Linked DNA regions of Homo sapiens: all the other regions are linked to region 2. Evidence: promoter capture Hi-C in human tissues and cell types (Jung and others, 2019). All regions are on one chromosome and are shown on one strand. Each heading gives the region's core, a stretch centred on a gene start or on the middle of the fragment in contact. The rest is flanking DNA. Distances are from core to core; before and after follow the strand shown.

Evidence for each region. The method cuts DNA at HindIII sites, captures the fragments that hold promoters and counts their contacts. A contact is called where the count stands out against the background at its distance.
Region 1: a contact is called between the fragment with the promoter of CHD3 here and the fragment with the promoter of EIF4A1 in region 2, in 1 of the 25 tissues and cell types used here (adrenal gland).
Region 3: a fragment that was not itself captured here is called in contact with the fragment with the promoter of EIF4A1 in region 2 in 1 of the 25 tissues and cell types used here (IMR-90 fibroblasts).

Annotation. Positions count from the first base shown.
Region 1 is chr17:7,887,018-7,890,556 of GRCh38, forward strand. It overlaps CHD3 (chromodomain helicase DNA binding protein 3), which reads left to right and starts at 1,772. Exons shown (of 40, transcript NM_001005273.3): 1 at 1,772-2,083; 2 at 2,647-2,759. The coding sequence starts at 1,984. RefSeq lists a silencer at 635-794 and an enhancer at 2,204-2,773. The HindIII fragment of the contact is 8,044 bases long and covers 1-3,217 here.
Region 2 is chr17:7,570,838-7,574,268 of GRCh38, forward strand. It overlaps EIF4A1 (eukaryotic translation initiation factor 4A1), which reads left to right and starts at 1,988. Exons shown (of 11, transcript NM_001416.4): 1 at 1,988-2,027; 2 at 3,423-3,431. The coding sequence starts at 2,005. It overlaps SENP3 (SUMO specific peptidase 3), which reads left to right. Exons shown (of 11, transcript NM_015670.6): 10 at 46-96; 11 at 536-1,132. The coding sequence ends at 646. SENP3-EIF4A1 (SENP3-EIF4A1 readthrough (NMD candidate)) reads left to right here. Exons shown (of 22, transcript NR_037926.1): 10 at 46-96; 11 at 536-642; 12 at 1,447-2,027; 13 at 3,423-3,431. RefSeq lists enhancers at 1,326-1,385, 1,416-1,465, 1,486-1,545, 1,666-1,735, 2,242-2,997 and 2 more and silencers at 1,906-1,965, 1,976-2,035, 2,936-3,075. The HindIII fragment of the contact is 10,064 bases long and covers 1-3,431 here.
Region 3 is chr17:8,018,929-8,022,315 of GRCh38, forward strand. GUCY2D (guanylate cyclase 2D, retinal) reads left to right here. Exons shown (of 20, transcript NM_000180.4): 20 at 1,200-1,414. Among named protein-coding and RNA genes, the nearest start is that of GUCY2D, 18 kb to the left of the region's middle. The HindIII fragment of the contact is 6,779 bases long and covers 1-3,387 here.

The sequences.
Region 1 (3,539 bases), core at 522-3,021, 320 kb after region 2:
CTCCCTTTCAGCCCTCCAAGTCGAATGAGTGACCCAGATACACCCCCTCAGATGACTTTCGGAGGTAAAACTTCGGGAAATTATTTTTAGCACACTCATTATTTCTGTCTACCTAAGTGTGGGGAAAAGAACCCTCCTCTAAGGAAATTTGTTCAGGCTGCCCTCGCTCTTCCTTGTCTAGAGTATGCATTTGTGCACAGGAGAGATTTCCATTGTTTTCCATTCCGACTGCTTTGATTCTCACCATTTTGTTTTACATTCTTACTCAAGACCAATTTTATCCCTTCCCCCTCTCTCCAGTCTCCTTACATTGTTAAACGTTTAAAATAATAGCAGTCGTGTTGGTGGGGGAAGGGAGCAGGAAGCCAAAAACTCATTTCTTCTCCCTCCCCCTTCTGGCAAGTCGAGAGAAATAATATAACATAATATATAGATGTGATTCCTTGGGGGTGGGGGTGGGGAATGATTGTGGGTGGTGCGGAAAATTCTGGTAGTTTCTTTGCAAAAGGTCTGAAAATACAAACCCACCCCCTGCCTGCAGTACGCATGTGCAGCAGACCTATTATGGTGGTGCGTTGTGGGGGAGGGAGGGGAATTTGAGAAAAAATAAATATATGTGTGAGAGATTGATGGTGAGATTAGAAGAAGAGAGGGGCGGGCGGGAGGCGAGGCTTCGGCCGAGACTCCTCCCGCTTGCTCGGGCGGCCAGGCTCCGCCCTGCGCCCTCCGGCCCCCGCCTCTCTCCTCCCTGCCTCCCTGAGATCCGAGCCGGGGATGTGGGAGAGTCTGGGCTCCAGGCCAGCATTGAGTGGCTGCTGAGACCGAGGTTGGGACTTAGATTTGCTTTATTACCCTTCCTTGCTTTTCCTTGCCGTTCTCGCTTTGCCTCTCCCGCCACCGACGCCTGCCCAAGTTCGGGAACCTCCCGCTGGGGTGGGGAGTAGAGTGAACCGGCTTGTGCACCACCCCTGGCTGGTGGTGGCCGAGGCCGTGTCCCTGAACCTTAGCCAGTTGGCCTGCCCTTGCCACTGCCTCGGCAGCCTGCGTTTCCATGTTCAAGTCAACCGAAGTCCCTGGGGCCAGGGGGAGCCGGCTGCTGGGGCATGGCGCCTTCCTTGCTGACTTCCTATTACAGTCCCCATTCCGTTTCACACCCGGGCTCTGGCAGCCACCCCCCTGCACACACGCACACAGTCCTAGAGTGTCTTCCTGCACAAGGGGACACAGGATGCTGGAGTTAGCAGGAAAGGTGGCACTGAAGGAAGGCGAGGCAGCGACTCTGAGGCAGTGGAAACGGAGGCCTCTGGTGTTAATTGTGGCTAATTTTCCGTTGGCTGTTGAGGGAAGGAGAAAGGATTGTGTGTCCTAGAGCTAGGGGCTGGGCCAAGCCCAGGCTTTCCCATCTTGCATCGGCTGCCTCTCTCTGTACTAGACAGGTCTGGCTGGTTAGTCTAGTGCTTGGTAGGGGAGGGACGTGAACCAGAGCCCCAGGGCCCCAGGTCTGTGGGGCATCCTGTCTTCCTTTATGTGGGGTAACTCTCCGTTCCGTTCCCCAAGCCTTCACAGAGTGACACCTTCACAGATAATGGGGTGGGGGGCCTGGGGTCCTCTGGCAGAGACATCTGGGGAGAAAGCCAGGGACCTATCCCTGCTGAAGCAGGTACAGGCCATCCTCTGGATTTGTGGGCCTGAGAGTGTGTGTGGGTGTGGGTGCGCGCGTGCGCGCGCGTGCTTTTGAGAAGGCATATGCTGGGTGTGTCTGTCTGTGCCTATATCTTTGTTTGGGTCTCCCATACTGCGTATAGATGAATGGGTCAGGATATCTGGAACAAAATATGGAGGTGAAGGGTGAGATCGGGAAACAAAGGGTATGGCCCCCTAGTTCCCAAAGGGAGCAGGGAGATGGGAATAGAATTGAAGGTAGGTTTTAGGCTACTTGGGAGGAGGAATATTTAGGTAATTGTGGAGACTTTCTCCTGTGTGATGAAGGCGGCAGACACTGTGATCCTGTGGGCAAGAAGTAAAAATGACCAGCTGAGGATTTCTTTTCCTCCAGGACTGTGTTGGGGTGACAGGATGCCTGGTAATTATCCGAGGAAATGTAAATAGAGGCCTCCCTCTTGGCAAAAGGATGTCAGGGCCCCAGGGTGTTAGTGTGAGAACCCAGGTGTCCACCTTTGGCTCTCCCTCCCCAGCATCTGGCTTAGGGAGCTGCCAGCTTGTGTCTCCCCACTCCAAGTGCTGGGGTCAGGCCAGGCCAGCAGCTGGGCATGGCTTCCCCAGTTCCTGGGCAGGATGCCAGCTGGCGAAGTGAGGGGGAAGGCAGGAGGAGCCCTGGCGGTGACTGAAAGGACCTGCCACAGTCAGAGCCCATGGCCTGGAGCCTGGTCTCTTGTTAGTAGGAGGGGAGGGAGGGGAGTGGTTTGGCTGCTCTTCTCTTCTGACCCCTGACCTCCCATTCAGAACCAGAGCATCCCAGAGTACTCGAAACACTTTCTGTTTGCATCCAGTGAAGGGAGGCAGGGCTTGGAGGAGTTAATGCTTCCTAGAGAGTGGGAACTGCCGAGGTGGGGAAGGGGCAAGTTGAGGGGCCTCAGAGGCTGGAAACCTAGAGGCTTAGGTTTTCTGATGCTTTTTGCTTCAAAGATAAGGATGACATTCGGCTGCTGCCGTCAGCATTGGGTGTGAAGAAGAGAAAACGAGGACCCAAGAAGCAGAAGGAGAACAAGCCAGGAAAACCCCGAAAACGCAAGAAGCGTGTAAGTGTCAAGAATTCCTAACTCTGTGGCAAGGCTCAAGAGACCCATTCTCAGAGACCTACATTTTCTCTGGTCCTGATTACTGGTGTGGGGGTGGGGTTCTGAAGCCAGGGAGGCTTGATCCCCCGGGCCCCCCACTTCCCTGCCACTGTTGGCCTGTATCTCAGGGATCTGGGACCCTAACTTCATTCACTGCAACCTAGTGAAGAGCCTCGTTGTCAGTGTGTCCTCAGCAGCAAAGAGAAGCAGTTGAAAGCACAAGCTCTGGAAGACTGTATGAATTCAAGAGTCCAGCATTCCTCTGTCTAGGATACCAGGCCGTTTATTTGGCTCTCTGTGCCTTAGTTTCCTCATCTGTAAAAAGTAGATAAAGGCCGGTTGCAGTGGCTCACGCCTGTAATCCCAGCACTTTGGGAGGCTGAGCCGGGTAGATCATTTGAGGTCAGGAGTTCGCGACAAGCCTGGCCAATGTGGTGAAACTCCGTCTCTACTAAAAATACAAAAATCAGCCGGGCGCGGTGGTACGTCTGTAATCCCAGCTACACAGGAGGCTGAGGCAGGAGAATCGCTTGAACCCGGGAGGTGGAGGTTGCAGTGAGCCGAGATCACGTCAGTGCACTCCAGCATGGGTGACAGAGCAAGACTCCATCTCCAAAAAAAAAAAGGAGATAAAAAATTAGTTACTATCACAGGATTGTTGTGAAGATTAAAAGAGGTAAGATATGGTATGTGCTGAGAACAGTTTCTGGCAATGGTAGGGATGAATAAATGTTATTTTTA
Region 2 (3,431 bases), core at 738-3,237:
CTGGGAGTCTCCATGTGAAGGGCCTGCTTTCTTTCTCTTCTCTAGAATGTGGCCAGGCAGAATAATGACAGTGACTGTGGTGCTTTTGTGTTGCAGGTAAGCAGATGATGGGGCCACCTCCCCTAGCTCTGAAGTCAGTTGGGTTAAAGGGTCGGGAGGCTGTTATGCATCCCCTCATTTGGCTCATAGTCAGTTGTGGAGCAGGAAGTAATCTGTTTTAGAACACCAAAACACTGGCTTCACTGGTTCTCTTCTGGACTTCTCCATCCCACATTGGGACTGGGTCTCTAGTCTTGGGCCTCTGGCCTTCATAGAGCTCCCTGCTAACCTCCAACTCAGTGTATTTTCTCCATCTAAAACATTCTATCAAGTAAGAACACTAGCTTTAGAGTCAGGCTGTTTTTGAACCCCAGGCTGTGGGACCCTGGCTCCCTTTGGGGATGTTCTCTGAAGGATGGAGACACATCTCATATGAAATGTGTAGCACAGGTCCTGACACGGGGGGTTTCTCATGGCTTGCTTTGTTAACACCCAGTACTGCAAGCATCTGGCCCTGTCTCAGCCATTCAGCTTCACCCAGCAGGACATGCCCAAACTTCGTCGGCAGATCTACAAGGAGCTGTGTCACTGCAAACTCACTGTGTGAGCCTCGTACCCCAGACCCCAAGCCCATAAATGGGAAGGGAGACATGGGAGTCCCTTCCCAAGAAACTCCAGTTCCTTTCCTCTCTTGCCTCTTCCCACTCACTTCCCTTTGGTTTTTCATATTTAAATGTTTCAATTTCTGTATTTTTTTTTCTTTGAGAGAATACTTGTTGATTTCTGATGTGCAGGGGGTGGCTACAGAAAAGCCCCTTTCTTCCTCTGTTTGCAGGGGAGTGTGGCCCTGTGGCCTGGGTGGAGCAGTCATCCTCCCCCTTCCCCGTGCAGGGAGCAGGAAATCAGTGCTGGGGGTGGTGGGCGGACAATAGGATCACTGCCTGCCAGATCTTCAAACTTTTATATATATATATATATATATATATATATATATATATATATATATATATATATATATATATATATATATATAAAAATATATAAATGCCACGGTCCTGCTCTGGTCAATAAAGGATCCTTTGTTGATACGTAAGTGGTGGTCTTCCTTAAGGGGCTTCAAATTAGTGGATATGCTTAGCTCAGACCTTCCAGCCAGTCTCTTGAGACTAAAGGGTTCAGCTTTCCATCCCTGGCTCAGGCACTGCCAACACCTTGTCTTCACCCAAACAAATCCCCGAGATGGGAGCAGAGAGCAGGAAGGAGGGAAAGTAGATAAGCCTCAAGAATAAGGGCATCCGAGAGGGAAGCTGGGGAACTGGACACAAGGGACTGGGGAGGGGACCAACCAGGATTCATGATAGTACCCCAAAGCCCTTTACAGTTTTCTTCCATCCCTCCACCATCCAGCCAGGGGAATCCTCCCATCCCTACGATATCGCTGTTGATTCCTTCATCCCTGGCACACGTCCAGGCAGTGTCGAATCCATCTCTGCTACAGGGGAAAACAAATAACATTTGAGTCCAGTGGAGACCGGGAGCAGAAGTAAAGGGAAGTGATAACCCCCAGAGCCCGGAAGCCTCTGGAGGCTGAGACCTCGCCCCCCTTGCGTGATAGGGCCTACGGAGCCACATGACCAAGGCACTGTCGCCTCCGCACGTGTGAGAGTGCAGGGCCCCAAGATGGCTGCCAGGCCTCGAGGCCTGACTCTTCTATGTCACTTCCGTACCGGCGAGAAAGGCGGGCCCTCCAGCCAATGAGGCTGCGGGGCGGGCCTTCACCTTGATAGGCACTCGAGTTATCCAATGGTGCCTGCGGGCCGGAGCGACTAGGAACTAACGTCATGCCGAGTTGCTGAGCGCCGGCAGGCGGGGCCGGGGCGGCCAAACCAATGCGATGGCCGGGGCGGAGTCGGGCGCTCTATAAGTTGTCGATAGGCGGGCACTCCGCCCTAGTTTCTAAGGATCATGTCTGCGAGCCAGGATTCCCGGTAAGAAAGGCATTTGCAAGAGATTGTGGCTGCTTATTTTGCCGCCCCCTTCCGACGGGCCCGCCGGGGGTAGCTGAGAGGCCCACCAGGGTTGCGGGAGAAACCGAACCGGGTGGGGGGAGGGTCCGACTTGGAGGGGCGAGGGGGAAGACCCACGGCCGACGCGGCCACCAGGTCGAGGCGGAGGGTAGGGACAGCCCGGCTAGGGTCAGGCGTGCGAGGTCTGTTACGAGGCCTCGACCCGAGGCGGTGCCATGCGCGAAGCCCCGGCGCTGAGTGGCGAGACGGGGTCGCGACCTGGCGTGGGAAAGAAAGGTGGAGGCGGCCGCCACTATGTGTGGCCCAGAGCCGGCAGGTCCGGTTGCCTCCCTGTGCCGGGGGAGGGACGGCGCGCGGGGTTCCGGAGCATTCTGACGGTACCACTCGCGAGAGGCGGGGGTGCCTGGTCCTTAGATCCAGTCACTTCGTCGCGGCTAAAACACGGGTCGGGGAGAAGAAACCGGCCGTTCAGTGTGCTGGTTTTCTTGACGGCCAGGACTGAGCCTAACCCCGAGGAGCGGCCGCGTGAGGCACCAGGAGCCCACCCGGCGCCGGGCGGGCGGGTCCATTTTGCCGCACAAGCCGGGCTATTGGCAAACTGCGGATGGGCAGGTCCACCTTCCTTCGGGGGTGAGCGGCCTGAGGTATGGGAGGGCGACGCTACTTCGCGACGGGGGCGGGCGGGATGTGGATTGTTCATGGAGGGGTGGGAGACGCCGCCGGGTGGTCGAGGGAGCGAGCACATGGTGGCCTGAGGCGTTCCCCTCCCCCAGTCTGCTTCGCTTCTAAGTGTTGTGCAATCTCCCCCTTTGCTAGCTCGGCTTGGGCTCATTGTGCGCGAGGCCGCCACCGCCCGCGGCCTCCCACATCCGGGCAACGCGAGGGGGGGGCTTCGGCTGGAGGGAGTGGGGGAGGGCGCGGGCGGGATGACGTGGGGGGAAGGGGATGTCCTACCCTCCGATCTGGGAGGTGAAGGGCGGGACTTCCAGCGCGCTGGTGCTGCGGTGGGAGGTGCACGCGCTTGGGCTTTAAGCGGCTGGGTCGGGCCCACGTGGACCCGGCGGCAAGCACCACCTCTGGGCACCGTGAGCGCGGCGGCACGCCTGCCGGCCTGTCTTCAGAAAGGGTCACCCCCTTATGTCGGGGGTGGCCTGGCCTGAGCCGCTGCCTGCATGGGGCAAATGCCTCAGTTTTATAGAAACTCCTCCTTTGGGTATTTTTTGGGAGCTGGTGGGAGTTGGATCTGGGACAGCAGATTGATGGCATCATGCAGGCCACTCCTGACAGAGCCCGGCTGTCAGGATTTCTGAGTGCTTCGGTCGGGCAGGGGACAAAACTTATGCTTTAAACCAACAGATCCAGAGA
Region 3 (3,387 bases), core at 730-3,229, 450 kb after region 2:
AGAATCCAGCACTTGTAAGTTCTGGTTACCGAAGGTGATGTTGCTACAGAGAGCAATTTAGTGCAATTTTAAAAACATTTTAAATTGAATTTAAATACGATGAATTAAAGATTAAAAACAAAACAAAACCCGGGCATGCACACACACACATTTTTAAAAGTTATTTACATTCTTGAAGATTTTCCTTAAGATTTTCTCTGTACTTAGGTCCCAGGGATTGAAGCGCAGATTCACATCTCTGGCCTTGGACCTGACTGTGTGGATAGAGCTCTCAGCCTCCTGTCTCTTCCCTCCCGTACCCGACCCTGCAGCCCTTCCCCTTCCTTCCCTCTCTCCCTGCCTGCAAGGGCCTGGAGTAGTTAATGGTGTGTGATTTCGGCTGCCTCAAGGAAGAGTCCAGGATTAGGTGCAGAGGGATTAGCTGGGACAGGCTTAGGCAGGGCTCCTCCCGGAAGCAGAGGCGGATGAGCCAGAGGGCAGACCCAGTTTAAGGTAGAAGTGGAGTGGGCAGGGCTGAGCCAGTTCCTTCCCACCTTCACTCAGCCTCCTTCCCAGGCTGGCCTCAAGCTCAAGTGACCAGATGTGATAGAAGAGCCCTGACCCCTCCCCAGCTAGAAGAACTTGGGGAACCCCCACCCCAGAGTTCACAGATCTAGTGGGAGAAGAGAAGGCAAAAGATGAAGCCTCAGCCTCCTCTCTGTGCCTCAGCCTCTCCTTTCTCTGTTCCTGCCTCCCTTTCTGCTCTATTCTCCTGTCTTTGTGTCCCCACAGTCCCCTTTCTGCCTGGCAGTCTCTGTCTGCCTTTCTCTGCAGTTTCCACCATTTCTCTGGAAATCTTATTTCCTGGACCCAGTCGGTTATCCAGTCTCAGGGCTCTGCTGACTCAAGTCCTCCCCACCCTGTTCCTGTGGCCTGGGCAACTCCCAGCGCATGAGAGCACCGGGGCCTGGCTTGGTCACTGGGCATCCCCCACCTTCAGATGTGTTTACACTACCTCTGCCAGCTGGCCTGCGCCAGGAGCCCACACTTGCGGTTGTCCTTGCCTTGGAGATGGCTCTGTAGCTGGCAGAGCAGTGATGGCCAAAGCAGGGACCTCTCATAGCTGCTGCTTCAATCCCACGGCAGAGACTCTACAGCGTGTCCCGGGGCTCACCTGGCGCCTTTTTTTTTTTTTTTTTTTTTTTTGTGCTTCTCCTTAGGGTCTGGGCCCTGCTCCCTGTCCCATCTGCAGTGGACCCCAGGCACCCCCCTTTGAGGAGGTGGGGTGAACTGCTCCTTGGCAGGGATTTGTGACACTGCATTGCTGGGCTGTGTTCCTCGGGCTCTTCTGGACCTTGCACCGTGGATACCAGGCCATGTGCCATGGTATTTGGGTCCTGGGAGGGTGGGTGAAATAAAGGCATGCTGTCTTCCATGTTGTGGTGTGTGCTGCTTTTAGCCAGGAGAGTAGTCTCGACACCCCCATCTCTGGAACGCTCAGCCCTGCCATTTCCAGGGAGGGTTTCAGATAGGGTTGAACCTTAGAGATGGCCTGAAGAGGGGAAGTGGCCGGGGCCAACAGCTCCCAGGAACTCCTCTGCTCAGAGAACCAGTTGGGGAAGTCTCGGGCCTCTCAGGCTGCTGGAAAAGACCAGGGTCTCTGACGCTTTTAAGGTGGGTGATGTGGCTTCATCCCTTGATTGTATGCAGGAGGGAAGAAGGAAGAGAAGGACAGAGCTTGTCTATGCCATGACTCCATGACCCATGGACCATAACCTACAAACATGGGAGCCAGAGTCCAAGACTGAAGGAACAGGGCCCCCAGATGGGAAAGGTGAGGTCCACTGGTCTCTGGGCAGGACCTCATCAACAACCCACACTCCACCTCTGACCCTTCACAAACCTGCCCCTGGAGCTTCAGAGCAGGAGAGACTATCCCAAAATCACCAGTGGGTGACTGGCCCCTAAGTCTTCCGGGAGCCCAGCTGTTCCCGTGCCAGGCCCAATGTCCCAGACAGGATGACCTGTAATGGACATCGACTGTGCTGCCTTCCTACATCCATCCTGCTGGGCAGTGGGCAGCCATCTGTGCCCCATTCTTAATCCCAGTGGAAGTGGCTAGAACTGACTGCTGACTTCCCCCTTCAGGCCAGCCCAATCATTCCGTTCCTCTGGCCTCAAAGACAGATGAGCTGGGCCAGGCTGATGAAGCTCGGTGCTGGGACGTTGTTTGAAGCCATGGGGAGAAATTGTCTTCTTGGGGGGTTGCTGAGAGGATGGGACATTGAGAGATCCTTGCCACCACAAAGACAGAGCTGAACTGGCAGATGGAGAGAGACAAAGTCCTGATGGCTACTGTCTGAGCTGGGATACCTCACTGGGCCTAAAGCCAAGTCCGGCTGTTTAAGCAACATGGGCCAGCAAATTATTTTCTTTGCTTAAGCCAGGTTGCGTTGGGTTCTTTCTTTTCTTTCTTTCTTCCTTTCTTTCCTTTCTCTTTTCTTTCTCTTCTTTCTTTTTCTCTCTCTCTCTCTCTCTCTCTCTCTTCTTCTTTCATACCTCAAAACCCTCACGATGGCTGGGCACAGTGGCTCATGCCTGTAATCCCAGCACTTGGGGTGGCTGAGGTAAGAGAATCACTAGAGCCTAGGAGTTCTAGACCAGCCTGGGCAACATAGCAAAATCTTGTCTCTACAAAACACAAAAATTAGCCAAGCATGGTGGTGCACACCTGCAGTCCCAGCTACTCCGGAGGCTGAGGCAGGATGATCACTTGAGCCCGGAAGGTCAAGGTTGCAGTGAGCTGAGATCACACCACTGCATTCCAGAGCGAGACTGTCACAAACAAACAAAAACCTTCGTGATGTTTTCACGGTGATGAAATGTTGGTCCATTTGATTACGATGTGCTGATGGCTGCAAGTTCAACAGGTGGCTTTCCCATCTACTCCACCTCCTCACCCAAACCACTATGCCAAGCAGACACCTATCCATAGCCACGCACTTTATGGCCTCGCCTCAACATCATTCCCTTTGTCTCTGGCCAGCATGTCATCTCCTAGGCCTCTCTCTCAGCCTTGATCACCCACTCCCAAGCTGCATGCCTCCATCGGCATATTCCTATTGCAACTATCAACCAGGGGCCGCTGAGGCCACAGGGGTTCTCCTGCATGGACTGGCTGGTCCTCAACCACAGTCCCTGGGGTCACCTCTCCCAGGGCTTAGCCTTTATCCAAGGATAAAGGGATGGGCACCCAGAGCTCCTGCCACACTCTCTTCCAGGGCAGAGGCGAGGGCAGGGTAGGTCGCGGCCCCAGTGGAAACAAGGCCTGAGGGACTGCATACCCAGCTTTGAAGGTCTGCCCTGGAAGGCCCCAGACTGCTTCAGGCTCTGAAAAGGCAATGAGGA